Linked DNA regions of Homo sapiens: region 2 is linked to region 1. The links are contacts of gene promoters, found by promoter capture Hi-C in human tissues and cell types (Jung and others, 2019). All regions are on one chromosome and are shown on one strand. The core of a region is centred on a gene start or on the middle of the fragment in contact, and the rest is flanking DNA. Distances in the headings are between cores, read along the strand shown.

What was found. The method cuts DNA at HindIII sites, captures the fragments that hold promoters and counts their contacts. A contact is called where the count stands out against the background at its distance.
Region 2: a fragment that was not itself captured here is called in contact with the fragment with the promoter of FSTL5 in region 1 in 2 of the 25 tissues and cell types used here (H1 embryonic stem cells and dorsolateral prefrontal cortex).

The regions. Positions count from the first base shown.
Region 1 is chr4:162,161,562-162,168,167 of GRCh38, reverse strand. FSTL5 (follistatin like 5) reads left to right here and starts at 4,168. Exons shown (of 16, transcript NM_020116.5): 1 at 4,168-4,553. RefSeq lists an enhancer at 3,905-4,014. The HindIII fragment of the contact is 23,396 bases long and covers 1-6,606 here.
Region 2 is chr4:161,334,166-161,340,771 of GRCh38, reverse strand. No RefSeq gene overlaps it. Among named protein-coding and RNA genes, the nearest start is that of FSTL5-AS1, 690 kb to the left of the region's middle. The HindIII fragment of the contact is 5,240 bases long and covers 108-5,347 here.

The DNA of each region.
Region 1 (6,606 bases), core at 2,919-5,418:
TCATAGCAGTATTACTTGGAAAGCAGGATGAGGGTGTCTGTGAAGTTGACAACTAAATAAAAAAAATACGAAAATGCATAAAAACTAGAATAGTTAACACAAACCTGAGTCTGCTAAATCTGTATGTTAATGTTCATTCCCCATGATGTGGCTATATAAAGAGCGGGTTTTAATTCCCTTCAATTGAGAAGATGAAACTTATAACATTAATAATCTATATTTATCATGGAGAATAAAATAGGTTTATTTGGCTTTGCACCCTCAGCATTCATGGTACATCCTTTGATTATGCAGTGGTTCTTTAAGTGGCCAGTTACTATAATTCTGAGTTCATTTTGACCCCAAATTATTGATGACAATGAGCAAATCTTTTATTTAAGGCCAAACCTAGGTTTCTGTATTAAATGTGGTAGGTTTCAGCTTTCCAGTTAAGCAGCATTTATTAAACCATGTTCTGTCTTTCTCCAATTAATATTACCTCAATAAATATTGATATCAAACAATTTCTTAAACCTATAACTTTTATTCATACTATACATTTATCCAGGTTCTTGTAGAATTTAAGAAGCCTGTTTACACAGTGAGAATTAAAGTTTATATGTGCATTAATCTGATAATTTGAGGGGTAGAATAGCAAAAAGTTATAGTCAGCTTTTAGCCAGTATTTCTGAAAAAGTCCGCCACTCCTTTATGAAATGTGCCATTTTGATGGTGGATTTATAATTACAAATGATAAAAATTGTCTCTCTTAGTGTATCTTTCTGTGTGTTAATGTAAATACTAGCAAGAAAAGACCTTTCACAGTAGTCTTGATTAAATTTAACAATCTTATCCAAAGCCACCAAAATGCCTATGCTATGATATATAATAGAGAAAATGAAAAACAACATAATCTCAATTTTAACATATATTGAGATTTCAAATAATTCCAATGAAACTAATTGAGATTTAAAATTAAACTGATATAATCTCATGAAAATTGTAATTGCTGCTTAGATAAAATACGTGTGTGTGCATAATGAAATAGTGTTCTTTAATTTGCGGGTTTATTTATTAGTAGTGAGTTTTTAATTCATATATCTTAAATTTTATTTCCATAATTTTAAGAAAACATATTTGAAAATTCTCTTTAGTATATCCTACCCACATAAACACACACACACACACACACACACATGCACACATATAAATTTGTTTAAGGTCACAATTTGGAATTAGCTAAGAAATTTAATATAAATATATTGTGTCAATATTTCTTTCAATAACAAAATACTGTATTTAAATGCCCTTTACCACAGTAGACATATACCTAATAGACATTTTAAATAGAACATTACAATGAAATAAAACATATGTGGAGAGCACAAAAGGGCCCAAGGGAGCAAGAGATAGAAAGTAAGAAAGTAATGGAAGTAAAGAAGATGCCATATATATATATATATATATATATATATATATATATATATATATGCTCTTTTTTGTGTATATGCTGTTTGTATTTATATATGCTCTTTCTTTCTATTATATATTTTTATATATATGCTCTTTCTTTTTAACCTTTTTATAGTGATTCCAAATTATATATATATATAAAATAGGTTGAAGTCTAATATAAAATTACAGAATGACAAGCATGTAATGAATTTTGGAGATAACAGGATAACCTATATATTTTACAAATGATGTGTGTGATGAAAAGGTTTAAATAACTTGCCCTCAGTCACATTGCCATTTAGGACAGTACAAAACCAAGAATCCGCTAGGAGGATATTCTCAATGCTTTTCTGCATGTATTCATCTTTGTTCATGCTTCCCAAAATAGCTCTTTTCCTTTTTTTTTCTTTTCTTTCTTTCTTTCTTCTGTCCCTCTTTTTAAAGACAGTGAAAAAATGAGAAAATGATTTGGCTTTCCTTTCCATCTTTCAAAGGAAGGTTTGTTTTCTAGTTTTATTCCCTCAGGTTTTTCAATAATATTATGACTGCTTTAATTGAATTCATAGTCCAAAACATTATGATCACTGGAGTAAACTGAAAAATTATGTCCATTATACAAACAACATAGGTCTTGGTGGAATTTTATAAGCATACATCATGTACTCTCTATATTGCTAAAGTGAACTATCAAGATTTCTCTGACATTTCAGCACATTGGCATGAAGCAGACCAAAGTGTGCTATGCGATGTTCCCAAAAGAAGCATATCATGTGCGCCGTAGCCAGCCTAAGTTCAAGTTATACAGTTGGCTCCATTGTAATTGTAATTGTGCAACACCCATCTGCCCCCACAGATCATCTTTCCTGACATATCATGGTGTCTGCCACCTTTATTAAAATGACTTTGGGAATTGAAGAACTCATAATACATGCATGTATGGGTATATCTGTGCAAAAAGTCATGGCACTTGACACTTACAAATGCAAAATCAGTAGTTGTCTGAGAAAACAAAAACATTGCAGATTACCCAAAATGCAAAACTTGTAGTCAAGGTGTGTTGGAGAAATAGTACTGGGGATTGTACGTTCAGAAAAGAAATGGGCAATTTCTGGAATAAAGCCATAGAGAAAGTTTTATGTGGGTGTGAATCAGAATAAAAAAATGTTCCTTCCCTCAAGCAAAAACACCATAGTTTTTTCCTCTGTTATTTCTTCTTTTTTAAGTAACTAGAAAGAAGCAGTTTGGGGGTATGGGTCCACAAAGTAAATAGACTTCCTCAAATAACTTCTTAATATTAGAGAAAATAAAATGCATTATTTTTCCTGATGGGGAAATAAGTAAGTGTATTCCTTTGATTAGAGTCCCTGAAAAATGCTTGTGAGTGGATCCAGTGCTAGATGATATCAGACTCCTGGCATATGATGACACATATCAGTGTGTATGCATTCTGATGGAAAGCAATGTGTGAAATGCTATGACATTATTTGAATAAACAACCTTTTTTATTAAACATGCTTTATCCAACTTAAGAAAATTTAAGCTTAGTTTTAGATACCCACTTCTCTGTCCAAGTAAGTCATGATAGCTGTAGGTGGGACATGTGCATGGAATGTGAATAATCACCCTTCTGGATGATTGATTGCTTCAGTTCACTGAAAGTGTTTGTTTACAAGTTTAAGCAGTCTGTGGAATTTGGCATGACAGGCCCCCTTTCTCTTGCCTTCAAGGAGGCTAGAGCTTCACTGGGACAAGAAATATCACAAATACTGAGAGAATTGCTAAAGGCTATGTAAAGCTTCCAGCATAGCCCATCTTTCATAGAAATATTGATATAGTAGACATAATAAATATTGCATAACCTTCATAATTTTGGCAGTGGAAGTTGAAGCTGATAACTTTCACTTTTTATTATTTAATTTTTTTCCCTCTGGAATCTCCAAGTCTATACAGTTTGAGGATTTGTTTAAATCATGAGAATGAATAAGGAAGGTTCTGTAGGTTTTATAGGAACGCATATGAAGTATAATATATACTATGGAGCACTCGTATTTTTTTTCCTTAAGATTCTGTTTAGAAATGATGGTTAGCGCTGCAAGCTTTCACGTTTTCTCTCAGTGCTCAGAATTTTTTTTTTTTTCTTCCAGGCAAGTTTCTGCAGCAGCGACTCCCTCCAGAGGCTCCGTGAACCGAGGGAAGGGAGTAGGAACACCAAATACGGATCCGTTCAAATAACCAAATGGCAGGGAGAGGCAGCAAAGTTTGGGCAGGAAGATGAAAAGGATTGGAGATGTTTTCAAGAATGGTTGAATAGATTCATTCTATTTCTCCGTCTCCTCCCCACCCGCCTCCCACTCGGTCCTCTCCGTGCTCCACTGCCCCCTCTCTCCGCCCCGTCTTCCTTCCAGAGCTGTGCCCGCAGCGATCTTAGAGTGCGCAGAAACGGCAGTCCCCGCGAAGGCAAAGGCTCCAGCACCGTCAAAGCGTTTAGTTTCTACTGGACTGGTTGAGAATACATCCTGAAGTCCAAAGATGCCCACGCTGACGTTAAGCCTGAATTTTGTTGCCCCGATTGCCGCAGCTGACTCTAGCAGAAGCCCAGTCAAGGGGGCGGCCCCTCACCTCTCGGCGAGTTGATATGCAAAATAGTTACGTCAGATGGTGGGGGCGGGGCACCCCCGGGTTGAGTGGCAGCAGCTCCTGCCTAGGGAGGAGGAGCGAGAATCAGCCTGGTTCAGTGACTGAGACAAACTGGAGGTGAAAGGAGCTGGTACTGTCCACTGTGCTGTCGGTGCTGAACCTGAGACGCGAGCGGACCAGTTGCTCCAGCACCTGAAGGCAACGCCCTCTTGCACCCTCTGTGCCCTGTGGGACCCGCTTCACCAACAGGACCCATATCAACTTGACAAAGGAGTGTGGTATCGGACGTGGGAGAGAGTCCTCTGTTTGCCACCTGGGCGCTCATTCAGGCGTGACTTTGGAGATTTCTATAGTTTTAGACCAAACTATTTTTTTTTCCCCAGCTAAGACGATCTTTTGAGAGTTTTTTTTTTTTATTGTGATTTATATTTCCACAGCGTTTAGGAATCTTTCTGGGGGACTTTTGTGACTGTTAAAATAAGGTAAGAAAAATAATATTGTTATAAATGATTACAAGTGGGGGAGAAATACAGACTGCCATACAAAAATTTAAAAACAAGTTATGCTTATTTTTATAATTTGAAACTGGACTTTTGGCAATGATTACAAAAATATTTTAATAATTACTATTATTATTATTATTATTATTATTATTATTACAAGACAATCTGTTAGTGATTATGCACTAAATTCTAGAGGGGAAGTTGAGAGCTTTGCTTTTTGTGAAGTTGATGTCATTATGTTATATCTTGCTTTATAAATATAAATATTTTAGAGCAATACTTTCAGCAGGGTTCAAAGGATAGGAACCATTCCAGGAAACCCCCCAAATATATTAGCAAATGATGTTAAATAAATCAACCAACAAGTTGTTTAGAACAAATATAATCAAATAATTATTTGAATGGACTAGTCTCTGGTTAATCATCAATATTATTCCTATATCTAAAGCATAGACTTCAAAGTGCAGAGCTCTCTTAACATTTTTTGGAAGGGAGGAGGTAGGTATAGAAACATTTACATCATGCTGGGTCCATTTAGATGTGTTGTTATGCAGTAGATCCAAATAAAACTTGTGAAACTCAGTCTCTGAGCATTCCACACCCCAAGGTCATGTGTATTTCCAAGTTGGGGGCTGTTTGTTCTGCTGTTGACTAGCAAATGTCATCCCCTTGCAACCCCCTCAGGTTAGAGGTGGATGTAAATGGGAAGTTCTGATTTAATAATACAGTATTCGCTTGTATTATAGTCGCTTGTGCTGTTGGTAATTGAATGGAACTGGGAAGTGTGGGCTGAGAAAATGTCTCACTATTTCAGCAATGTTTAACCTCTTGCATGCTTAACAGAGAGCTTTTCTTTACTTAGAAGAATTTTCTTTTGAAGCTATGTTCCTTTTATCAATTGGCAGTGTGTTCTGAGTGTGTACAGAGAAAGAATTCAGTGTGGAAAACGACTGAACAATACTTCTCATAGTGAGCAATTATTAAATGATAGAAGTTATCCTGTGCTCTTTGTATTTCTTATTACTATTCATGACTTTGACAGGTGTGATGGTTTGCCTGATAAATGGAATTGTGGTCTCTCATTTATGTCATTTAGTAACATTAGATTAAGTATAAATGATGCCTGGAAAAGGACGGGGGTGGGGGATATTTCCTTTACATTCCAGAGAGAGAGAGTTTAGGTTGCAAGTAGATGTCCAATATTAATAGGAATGAGTTAAATATAAAGCTGTTTCGTACTTAATAAGTATTATTCAACTGAATAGAGCTATGCTTTTCAGCAGGCGTACACTAAGTTAGGTTTAAATATTTGTATATTTTAAAATATAAAATTTCTACTCTAGTTGCATTAGAGTTACTAGGATGAAGTTTAGCTTTAGAATTTTATGATTTAAACTAAATCCTCTAGGTAGAGATTTTTCATTGTATTTACTACACAGCCCTACAAGAGAGTGATTGTCACAAGCAATGCATATTGTTGCAAATACTAAAGGTCAAATGTAAATCTTTTGAAGTTGTTCACATGTTTTACCCTAAACAGATATTCTTTGTAGGATTCATGTCAGTCATGTGATCTTAAATTAAATATTCATACAAATTTTGAAAGCCTGGATTGGGTAGAGGGGCAAAAAAGAATATATAAAACACTGAGCTAGGAAGTTTATACAACATAATCTCCTTTAAATACACAGAGAATCATTCTTTCCACTACAAATTTTGAAATGTTCTTGTTAAAACTAATTATGTTGGTATAAATATTTAGGCTGTGAAATTTCTAACAGAATTATGGCTTATTTTATTTTCAATTTTATTTATTATCTTGAAACATGAATACATATCTTAATTTTATAACTTATTTGAAAGGCATACTATATATAAACATTATATTTACTCAAAATGTACCTAAGTGTGTCATTGACTTCCATTTGCACAAAGTTTTCCAAGATGTATGTCTTTATTCAAGTATAAATATTTACCTTGAACTACCAATATCTGGAATTCTTTAAGATGAAATTTAATGTTTCATCTAACA
Region 2 (6,606 bases), core at 1,478-3,977, 830 kb after region 1:
CCACGCCCAGCTAATTTTTGTATTTTTAGTAGAGACGGGGTTTCACCATGTTGGCCAGGATGGTCTCGATCTCCTGACCTCATGATCTGTCTGCCTTGGCCTCCCAAAGTTCTGGTGTTACAAGTGGAAGCCACCTCGCCCGGCCCGGGGTAATTATTTTTAAGTGACAAAAACATTTACAACCAAAAGTAGTTATCCTCTAGTTTATCCTGCTGTTGATGTTAGATCATACTTTAATATATTTTATATCCCCAATCAATAAATGTTATCTTATGAAAGTAAGTAACTAAAAGTCTTGGCTATTGAAACTCTAAATTTTTTGAGCCTTAAAGTCTCATAATAGACCTCTATAACCAAGGAAGCTGTAAACTTTGTCTGATTACAGATTAATCTTTCTCCCTTATCTGTATCATCTTGTAAGATGTAAATGACTGAAGGGCACCAGGGAAGGCCCCCTTCCTTCTACATTTTTTACCTTCATAACAGATTAATCTCCCTCTTAACGTTTCTCACAGGAAGACTTCATGGCTATCACATTGTCTTAAGGTGAACTGTTAAATACATTCTTTAAACTGGAAAGAGAATGACAACCAGCTGTAAAGAAAGGAAAACAAGTGGTAGAGAACAGAAAATGAACTGTAACTAATTTGTTGCAACTTTTAAACCAGCCATGGCTAGGAAATCATGTAGTCCTGTTAAACTTCTTTGTTTTCTGCCGATATAAGCAATAACTTAACTTTTAACTTTTGGGCACTGACCCCATTTTACTGGAGTTTTTATCTCCCAGGTAGCCATTCCCAGGTTTTGCTTGAATTAACTCTTTAAAACTAGATTCTGACCCTTTTTATTATTTCAGTTTGACAACTTGGATGTGTTTTCATTTTCTATGAATTAACATGCTGAGAAATTTTAAAAATTTAGGCTTCATTGTACTAGTCCATTATATGTTGCTATAAAGGAATTACCTGAGACTCGGTAATATATCAAGAAAAGAGATTTAGTTGGTTTATGGTTCCACAGACTGTACAGGAAGCATGATACCACCATCTGCTTCTGCTAAGGCCTCAGAAAGCTTCCAGTCATGGCAGAAGACAAAGGGGGAGCAAGCATGTCACATGGTGAGAGGGGACAGGAAGTAGAGGGAGAAAGGCCATGCTCTTTTAAACAACCAGCTCTCATGTGAATGAATAGAGTGAGAACACCCTCATCACCAAGGGGATGGCAGCAAGCCATTCATGAGAGATCCACCTGGATGACCTGCAGACCTCCCAGTAGGCCCCTTTCCCAACATTGAGGGGTCACATTTCAGCATGAGATCTGGAGGGGACACACATTCAAATCATATCATTCATTCTTTGGAAGATGCATTTCTCTTTTTGGGAAGCTATGCCATCTATCATAAAGCTAAATAAACATTTAATAAAACCATTTAATTTTTAATACAGATACAGTGTATTGTCAGATAGTCTACAGATGAGTGTTTACCAAAATCTCTTCGTAAGTAGTCTGCTTATGAGGAAGAATTTGAATTAAATATAAAATATAGATCGCATTTGATATATACTAAAGAGGGGAACTCTCAATGAGCTCTTGTTAATTTGTTTGCAACTAAACCTTTTGAAGTGTAGAGATTCTTGCCTTAAGTCTGAAAAATTTTTATAGTGTTTTTCATACATACTGTTCAGACATGTGGATGCTAGTGAATGACACTCATATTTCTTGGCTATATCCTGGACCAACTGAGATACAGTGCCTAAGACATGTGGACTCACATAAAACATCAGTTTGATTACAGAGAAAAAAAAATGGGCAGAATTGTCTGGGCTATATGAGGTCTGCAGGCAGGCCCAGAGAGACATCAGTATGAGACTATAATCATGCTCCTGGTACCCATGCCATGGGCAATTGTTTAAAGTCATTTTGTTCCTGACTAGCTGCCTCACCCATTATCTTCATGGTGCTGGAATTTGTGATAAAAAGAATGTAGAGTCAATCAATAGCTTATGTTATTTTAATGTAAATTCTTGTTAAACAACTCAGGAACTGCCTTGTCTCTGCCTTTAAAAATCTGCTTATAACTGCAACTAATTAGAGTGTATATTCAGGGCAACTTGAATCTAGGATCCCTGGTTGCAATTCTCAAGATTGTCTCATGGAAACTCTCTACTTTCCAGGTGTGGTGGCTCACGCCTGTAATCCCACCTCTTTGGGAGGCCAAGGTGGGCGGATCACCAGGTCAGGAGTTCGAGACCAGCCTGGCCAACATGGCGAAACCCCATCTCTTCTAAAAATACAAAAATTAGCTAAGCGTGGTGGCAGACACCTGTAATCCCAGCTACTCGGGAGGCTGAGGCAGGAGAATCATTTGAACCCAGGAGATGGAGGTTGCAGTGAGCCAAGATCGCACCATAGCACTCAAGCCTGGGTAACAGGGCAAGACTCCATCTCAAAAAGAAAAAAACCAAAAAAACAAAAAACAAAACAAAACAAAAAGAAAACTCTCCACTTATATTAATTTTGCCTCAGCCTCCCCCATTTAGGTCAACAGGATTATCTGGCGTAAGTCAACAGGATTCACAGAGACTCCTCCTGAAAACCTTGTGTTTCTCTGAAGTTGGGGCTTGGTACCAGCAGGAATTCTCTGTCCTCAGAAGTCTCATGGGTTGTTTTGGGTGAGTTATCCTGAATTTGGACCTCCCACTCTTTGGTTGAAGGTCTAGACTTTATTTGGACTGTTTTTCCAACCCTGTATTTCCTTTAAGAGTGAGGGCTTCAGTCTCTGTCTTTGAACAGGAGAATGAGGTAAAGATCTCCTCAGAGAACTGCCTCTGTTTCCACCTTGGTCTCACAGCAGAGGTTCAAGTCAAAGGACTGGCAATTAGGCACTGTTGGTTTTATTTTATACAACATTTTTTTAGGACTACAGCTGTCTTCTATAGCTGGAAAATTCAGACTTAGTCTTTAATTTGTGACCCATTCCTGTTAGTTCGTAAATGAAATGTGTACCTTGTTTTTTGCTCTTCTAGACACGTATAATATTGGGGTCTTATCCCTCATACCTTGAGCACTCTGCTACCACTTGGCAGTTAGAGACAGTCTGAGACATGTCACACTTCAACCCAAAATACATTCCCAGCCTTGATTACTTTCCCTAAATTATGGAAAAATCAAGCCTTAAAATCTGAACACTCTTTGTAGAAACATCAGATGGATTTATATATACCACTTATAAGGCAATCTCTTGTAAATATCTAGGAAAGTGGCCCTGCTTAACCTGGACAGTCACAATCAGTAGTAGCCAAAATAGGGATTCTTTGAAATATTTAAAATAATTCATTTGCATGCGTAATTGAAATAAAAAAAGCTGTTTTAGAACCAGGATAACTAAATGACAGACCTACTTCCTGTTTGTCCTGGCTGAAATCCAGTAAGTTGAGATTTGAAATGATTTCTTTTTAGAGCACTATGACCAGAGGTCAGCTTAATTAAAAGTGGATATTTAGAAGATATATATCGATATATATATATATATATCAATATTTAGTATGTAGATAGTATAGATAAATATCTTCCAAATATCAACTTAAAATACATATATTTATTTAAGTAATGAGATAAATGCCAGGATCCCAAAGAAGGCCTTAAATATATTACAGGCCTTCTTAAATATATTATTGGTAAACAACTCAGGAACTGCCTTTTATTTCTTGAAAATTCTACTTGTAACTGCCACTGATCAGAGTGTATATTCATGGCAACTTGAATCTATGGTCCCTGACTGCAATCCTCAAGCTTGGCCCAAAGCTTTATTTTATTTTATTTTATTTTATTTATTTTTTGAGACAGAGTCTCACTTAGTCACCCAAGCTGGAGTGCAGTGGCACCATCACAGCTCACTACAGCCTTGACCTCAGGTGATCCTCCCACCTCAGCTTCCTGAGTAGCTGGAATTATAGACTTGCACCATCATGCCCAGCTAATTTTTGTATTTTTTGTAGAGAAAGGGTTTTACCATCTTGCTCAGGCGGTTCTCGAACTCCTGGACGCAAGTGATTTACCCAACTCAGCCTCCCAAAATTTTGGGATAACAAGCCTGAGCCACTACGCCAGGCGTGATATTTTCTTATTCATAAAAACAACAAGGAAACTGGTCAAAAAAAATAAAAAAAATGAAAATCAATTTTTTCAGATCTCTGGAAATTTGCCAAAAACTTTCAGCAATCTGGTGAGCATGTATTCAATTAAAAAAAAAAAGCTGAATTAAAAAAAGAACAACTAGCTTTGTGATGTTTTAACTTATCCTCATCCCAACTTCCCCTTCTCACCTCTGGTTACTTTGAAAGAAATCAATGGATCACAAGCACAGTAAAAGCCAGTCACCTGGCATCCACTAGAGGTTATAAAATTGGATTAGAGCCCCTTCAAAACCGCATTTTAAGAGATTTTAAAAACTATTTTATGTGTCTAGTGTTCTCTGGAAACTCAATTCACAAAGCTGGCTTTATTTAAACTGTCTGAGACTTTTCTAGTGCTAACAAGCTGGCCGCAATGTGGCAGCTGCCCAAGGTGGTGAATAACAAGAGGGGGAACAATAGGCTAACCAACATGTTTAGAAGAAATACATAGGGAATTGAGTGTAAGAATCACTGACTGCTCTGGGACTCAACCAACTGGAAGTCTCTCCTGGTGGACAGAGTCCATGAATGTAATTAAACAGTCTATGCAGAGTTGGGGATGAGTATGGCAGAGGAGAAGACTCTTGCTTTCATGGACAAAATAGCCCCAGTGTTGCATCCCATGCCCCCTCCTCCAGATGTTCAGTTGACCCCATTGCCAGAATCTTTGATAGGAGATCGTTGATATTTAGGAAGGTGTTTTATTTCTTCAGTGACAGAGTCCAGTTGCAGTAATTCATCAGGTCTAAATTAGTAAGGTTAGGACACCTGGGATAGTAGAAATTTCTATGGCTAGAGAGATGTCCATTTGTGATATACAGTGACATAGTTATAAGATGTTTTCCTGCAGGATTAGGCAAAGGTGGCATCCAATAGTTCATCAGATTCAGGGTGGTGGTAACTGTCTAGAATAGGCAGACCAAGAAATCTGGCAAGACACAAGTCACCTGGGCTACCTGTCCTGTCGGAGAGAGATAAGAAATGCTTGATTTATTCTTTTCCCTCAGAAGTGAGCTCTTCAGTAGGAATGTGCTCGTACCCTATCAGCTGGTTGGGATGGGGATTTTCCCCACTGACTGTGACGTGGGCAGTCTGTCCTGTACCATTTGTAATGAGAGAACCCTTGACCTAACCTCCAGGGTGGCAAATTCATGTAATTAGGCTTACATTCTCTTATGTATTGCACGGTAAAACTTTCTGTTTTATATGTTTTCCCCATGGGGCTATACTGGGTAAAGTGGAAGGGCCACATTAAGGAAAATGCTTAACTAGGGCTTTTCAATATACTTACAGTAGTTTAAATTTTTGATTACACAGCCTATTCTAAATAGCAAGGGGCCTCAAATTGATGGTCTTTATTTTTGTGGTCCTTGTAGATAAAAACCTATGCCATGCACCTGGGGGTAAATGAAGAAGGAGTTCATTGTCTCCCACCTTGTAGACAAAAACCTATGCCTTGCAACTGGGGGATAAATACAGGAGTTCATTGTATTGCTTTTTAATGTCCATCTTGATCTCCCTTTGATTTGAGTCTTCAGCAAGGGGCCAAAGATGATAGAAAGTCCTTACAGAGTACCCAATGGAGACTGAGATGTCAATAATTGTAAAAGAATGATGTACAAAATGAGGAACAGGGACGACAGCCTGATCAAACAAGGGGCACAAATAAGAACAACCTTTTCAGGGAATCCCTGCATTGAGATACAAGGATGCTAGCTTGAGATGTGTAGTTCAGGCCATGGTTATCTCATTTCCTCTTATCAGCAGCTTCAAGCCTGCCCTTCAATTTTTCATTAAAATGTTTAACTATACTTTTTGCTTGAGGATAATATGGAGCATGTAGAATTCATGGTATAGCCCATGATTGGGTCCAGTGTTGTGTAGCTTGAGCTGCAAATCTAGGGCCATTATCAGATAATCATTTGCTCAGGGAACCTGAATAGGAAATAAATTTGACCCTCTAGGACCTGGATAATTTGGCCCCAGTCAGAGGACTATAGAGGACTGACTATGTCAATTCTGGAAAATTTGTCAGTTGCAGTCAAGATGCAGTGAAATCCTCTGGATGGGATTCAGGGCCCAACAAGATCTATCTGTGAAGAATTCCCTGGCCCCCTGGTTGAAGTCATTTTTTCCTTGGACTGTATCTTTAGCTTTAGCTAGGTTTTCCAGGTGGGACTGGTTTTTCATGCTAGTTCAGCATCTTCTGATGACAGTATCAGTCTGTGCATGTACGCATAGCCTAGGACATTGTCAGAATATCCATGGCCGCTCTCTCACAGATCTAGCAGGTATGGCTCTAAAGGTGTACTGCAACCCATTGCACATACAGCCAAATTGATCTTAATCATTTAAGTGCAGAGAGATGTCAAAATAGTGCATTTGCAATATCAGTGGCTGCATACCAAGTTCTCTCAGTTTGGGCAAAACC